Linked DNA regions of Homo sapiens: region 2 is linked to region 1. The links are contacts of gene promoters, found by promoter capture Hi-C in human tissues and cell types (Jung and others, 2019). All regions are on one chromosome and are shown on one strand. The core of a region is centred on a gene start or on the middle of the fragment in contact, and the rest is flanking DNA. Distances in the headings are between cores, read along the strand shown. Region 1 holds the start of NDN (necdin, MAGE family member). Region 2 overlaps LOC107984787 (a long non-coding RNA gene).

Region 1 (2,700 bases), core at 142-2,641:
CACACATCATCAGTCCCATATAAAAGAATAAGATGGAAACTTTCTCAATGTATTTCATCAGTTTAGCACATCTCTGGTACAAAAATCCAAGAAAGGTAGCACAAAAGCGAAAGCACCAACCAAGCTTACATATAAACAAACATGCATACATCCTAAATACTACACAATAGTACCCAAATGAATACAACATTGCATTAAAGGTATAAAAGCACTGTACTGAAAACTTAAAAGTTACACGTGAATACTGCACTGTAAATCCTGAATACTATAATGACCCACCCCCACCCTTCCACAGCCCTGGTGAGGGTCAGAAACCATTCATCTGCCTCCAGACTTTGCTAGTCCTCAGAGACACTGCTGCGAGGGTAGTGGGCAGTGGGATTAGCCTCCCGCAGAGCTCTGGCCTCCTCCAGAGCTTCTCTGTATCGGGAGGGCCAGGCCTGGGGGTCTTTCTTAAAGACCCTGGCCAGGAACTCCATGATTTGCATCTTGGTGATTTCGCGGCTGGCCCGGGAGCCCCAAAAGAACTCGTATTCGGGCGGCTCCACGTATGGGACGCGCTGGTACTTCAGGTAATTCATTTGGACGAACTCCTCAGTGATGAGCTTCCGCACGTCCCCGAAGGTGGAGTGCTTCTTCCAGGGCCGCAGCCCCAGGATGCGCAGCACGTTCCAGACGGCGCTCTCTCTGGCGCCGCGGCCCTTCACGTAGATGAGGCTCAGGATCATGAGCAGGAGGCCTGTCATGGGCATGCGGTTGCTCAGCGCCACCCTGTCCAGCTCCTCGGGCTCCAGCGCTTTGACCAGCGCAAACTCCATGGTGTGCAGGCTGGTTAGCCTCAGGTGCAGCCCGAACACCCGGGCGAGGATGAGGCTGGTGCGCCGGAGGATGCTCCTGCACCACTTCTTGTAGCTGCCGATGACATCTTTCACCATGTCTGGAAACCAGATGATCATCTTCTTCTGGTCCTTGACCAGCACGTACCACATGAGCTCGTGCGCCTTCTGCACCAGCTGCGCCGGGGCTGGCGGTGCCGGGCCCGGCTGGGCCGCGCTCGGGGCCTGGTGGGCGCGGCCCTCCTCCGCAGCCTGCTGCAGGGCCTTCGGGTCGCCCTCGTCGTTCGGGGCCTGGGGAGGCGGCGCGGCCTGCGGAGCGGCCGTCGGGCCTAGAGGAGGGCTCTGCGGCTCTGCCAGGGTCGCGGACGGAGGAACCCCCTCCGAAACCCCAGGGCTGCTGTGCACCTCGGAGTTGGGGGCCTCGGCTGCAAAGTTAGGGTCGCTCAGATCCTTACTTTGTTCTGACATGTCTGCGCCGTCTGGCAAGGGCAGGGCCTCTGCGTCCAGGAGCTCTTCGAGCCTGCGCTCCCTCCGCGGATTCCTGGAGAGGAAGTGCGCGTTGCTGCGCGCGGCGCCTTCCGCAGCGACGGGCAGGGCGGGGCGGCGGCGGGACGCGGCACTGCGCCTGCGCGACCGCGGCCTTGGCCAGCGGCTGGGGGCGGGCGGGGCAGCGCGGGGCCCCGACGGGGAGGGTCCATGGCGAGGCTTCACCTGCTGGGAGAGCGATCCCGGGGTTTCCTGTTTGGGCTGAGAAGATCTAGGGCAGGAGAGAAGTGAGATGGATGCGTACTGGAGAAGGGGCCAGTTTAAGGGAAAGATACCTTAAGTTTTTGGGATGTTGGGGTCAAGTTTCTTGGGAAACGCTTACCTGGGTATATCCAGAATTAAGTTAAATATGAGAGTCCCAGAGAAAGGTCTGGGCGGCTTTGTAAACATGAGCTTTATGCGAACCAGTGAGAGGAACAGTCGGGCTTGTCCAAGAAAATGTGTAAACTGTAAAGTGGATGTCTGAGGTTGGAATCCTGAGAAATTCCAATAAAAAATGATCGACTCCCTACCAAATCAGATAGGCTATAAGAAAAGGGGAAATGCAGTGTGTCGTTAACGTAATTTCCTATCAACCCATGTGAACTATGAACTTTTTAAGTAGGCAGTGGACTTAGAGCATCATTAATGCTTTAACGGGCATAAATTTGGGTTTTACACTTCCTTTGGGTAACTTTGATTCCATTTTATTTTTTTCCATACTTAGTCCATAGCAGAAGGATTGCTATATCTTTTAGCACAAACTTGTATGATAATGTCTTTTCCCTCTGCCCAGCACCCTCATTCTTCAATTCACCTTCTCTCAGGACCCTCTCTGAAGCTACTGAGTCCTCCACGTTGGAAGCCACACCCAAGTCTTTCCTGAGATTTAAAAAAAAAATAGGTCCCATGGGTAATATCTGGTAGTGTCTCTGAGATGACCAAAGGGTAGCAGGGGAAACATAGGTAACCCTGTTTTCCAGGTATGGAAAACAGATTCCCAGTGGGCAAAGACAAAACTGTCACTCCTACAGGCTCTCCATGAAAAAAAGGGTCATTGCCTGAGCATCTGAAACCAGGGACCTTAATGCTGCTTCAGCATCCTTGGTCTGGGCTGATGTGGTCCTTCAGCTCTTCCCGGGTTTCTTCTCATCAGCAGCTTCTTAAATATGCTGTCTTGAATCTAGTTATTGCCACTCGAAGCCAAAAGCATATTTAAAAATTGTCTTGACATGTCTAGAGTCCTCACTGTGAGTATGTATCTTTTCCCACTTTATTTTTCCTCAAGCAGGTTGATGTTGAAAGGTTTTCTGTGCTTTCTCTCTTTGGGTTTGCACGC
Region 2 (2,700 bases), core at 71-2,570, 280 kb after region 1:
ACATACCCCACACACAGTGTCCCTTATTATTTACCTTGTACATTAGTGTGGGACATTTGTCAAATTAACCAGCCAATATCATGGATTATCATTAAGTACCATCTACACTTTATTCAGATTTCTTAGTTGTCACTTAATGTTATGTTTACGTTTTAGGATCTCATCCAGGATACCTCATGACATTTAGGTATCATGTATTTTTAGGATCTTCTGAATGTGATAATATCTCAGAGTTTTATTGTTTTTGATGGGATTGACATTTCTAATTTGTGGTTTCCCTGATGTTTCTCTCATGAAGAGACTGGATTTGTGGGTTTAGGGGAGGAAGATCACAGAGGAAATGTGCCATTCTCATCACATAATATCCCGGGCACAGGGTATCAACTGGCTTTAATCACTGTTGATGTTAATTTGATAACCTGGATGAGGTAGTTACTAACAAGTCTCTTTTGTAAAATTACTCCGGCCGGGCGTGGTGGCTCACGCCTGTAATCCCAGCACTTTGGGAGGCCGAGGCGGGCGGATCACGAGGTCAGGAGATCGAGACCATCCCGGCTAAAACGGTGAAACCCCGTCTCTACTAAAAATACAAAAAATTAGCCGGGCGTAGTGGCGGGCGCCTGTAGTCCCAGCTACTTGGGAGGCTGAGGCAGGAGAATGGCGTGAACCCGGGAGACGGAGCTTGCAGTGAGCCGAGATCCCGCCACTGCACTCCAGCCTGGGCGACAGAGCGAGACTCCGTCTCAAAAAAAAAAAAAAAAAAAAATTACTCCTTTCCCCCCTTTTCATGTTGTATGCATGAAAAAAAGTCACTATATACAACACACACTTAAAAGTGGGGGAATCATGCACCACTGCTTTTTAAAAAAAATTGTAGGTTTAGGATTATAAGTGGTTTTGGGTTGCATGAATGAATTGTATAGTAGTGAAGTCTGGGGTTTTTAGTGTACCTGTGACCTGAAGAGTGTATATTTTACCTCATAGTGAGAGGTGAAGCCAGCTGGACTTCCTGGGTCAAGTGGGGACTTGGGGAACTTTTCTTACAAGAGGATTGTAAAATGCACCAATCAGGAACTTTTGTGTCTTGCAAGAGGTTTGTAAAACGCACCAATCACCGCTCTGTAAAATGCACCAATCAGTGCTCTGTAAAACGCACCAATCAGCAGGATTCTAAAAGTAGCCAATAGTGGGGAGGATTGAAAAAAGGGCACTCTGATAGGACAGAAACGGAACATGGGAGGGGACAATACGGGAATAAACAATGGCCTCCTCCCAGCAGCCGCAAGCTGGTCCGGTCCTTTTCGAGGGTGTGGAAGCTTTGTGTTTTTGCTCTTCACTGTTAACCTTGCTACCTCTTGTTGTTTGGGTCCGTGCCATCTTTAAGAGCTGTAACACTCACTGGGAAGGTCCGCTGCTGAGTCGGTGCCATCTTTAAGAGCTATAACACTCACTGCGAAGGTCGACTGCTGAGGGTTCCCGGCTGTGAAGTCAGCGGGACCACGAACCCACAGGCAGGAACCAACTCCGGACACAATGGGTGATTTTTCATTTCTCACTCCCCGCTAACCCTTCTCCTTTCTGAGTCTAATGTCCATGATCCCACTTTGATTTTGTTCGTATATTTGGTTGTATTATTGATTCACTTTTTCTTTCTTGGTGGCACTACAAGTTGCTCCAGGTTAACTGTGTTGATTTTCTTCTCAAGCATAGTATTAAACATGTTTATCCATATTATGAAAAACATAGTATTAAACATGTTTATTCATAACTTATCTCCCATTTATAAGTGATAATCTGCAGTGTTTTTCTGTTCCTGAGTTACTTCCCTTAGGATAATGGCCTCCAGTTCCATCCAAATTGCTGCAAAAGACTTTATTTTGTTCTTTTACATGGCTGAGTAGTATTTTGTGGTATAGTGATATATATATTTTGTGATATATATTGATATATATTTTGTGATATTCATTTTGTGATATATGTATTTTGTGATATATGTATTTTGTGATATATGTATTTTGTGATGCATATATACCACATTTACTTTATCTGCTTGTTGATGGGCACTTAGATTCATTTAATATTTTTGCAGTTGTGAAATCTATTGTGATTAACCTAGAAGTGTAGATGTCTTTTTGATATATTGACTTCTTTTCATTCGAGTGTATACCCAGTAATGGGATTTCTGGATTGGATATTAGATCTGCTTTTAGTTCATTGAGAAATCTTCATACTGTTTACCATACAGGTTGTACTAATTTACATTCCCACCAAGGGTGTATAAGCACATTCCCTTTTCACCTTATCTTCACCAATAGCTATTATTTATTGACTGTTGAATAATGGCCATTCTGACTAGGGTAAGGTGATATCTTATGATTTTAATTTGCATTCCCTGATACTGACATTCAGCATTTTTTCGTATGTTTTTGATCACTTACAAGTCATCTTTTGAAAGATACCTGTTCATTTGCCCACTTTTTAATGGGATTATTCATTTTTTTGCTGATTTTTTTAACTTGCCAAAATAAGGTTTTTAGTTGATAAATAAGTTTAAAGTTTATAAATAAGGTGATAAATAAGGTTTTTAGTTTATATACTTTTATGTTTACCTTTTGTATACTTTTATGTTTATCCTTTGTGTTATAAAATTATATAGGATTTATTCATTTACTTAAATATGCATAGTGTCTGATTTTGAGT

Evidence for each region. Contacts are between HindIII fragments. The study calls those that stand out against the background at their distance.
Region 2: a contact is called between a fragment that was not itself captured here and the fragment with the promoter of NDN in region 1, in 4 of the 25 tissues and cell types used here (H1 embryonic stem cells, mesenchymal stem cells, mesendoderm cells and 1 more).

The regions. Positions count from the first base shown.
Region 1 is chr15:23,685,914-23,688,613 of GRCh38, forward strand. It overlaps NDN (necdin, MAGE family member), which reads right to left and starts at 1,392. Exons shown (of 1, transcript NM_002487.3): 1 at 1-1,392. The coding sequence starts at 1,304. The coding sequence ends at 339. The HindIII fragment of the contact is 8,447 bases long and covers 1-2,700 here.
Region 2 is chr15:23,961,458-23,964,157 of GRCh38, forward strand. The region is part of intron 1 of LOC107984787 (a long non-coding RNA gene); the gene reads left to right. Among named protein-coding and RNA genes, the nearest start is that of PWRN4, 12 kb to the right of the region's middle. The HindIII fragment of the contact is 7,761 bases long and covers 1-2,700 here.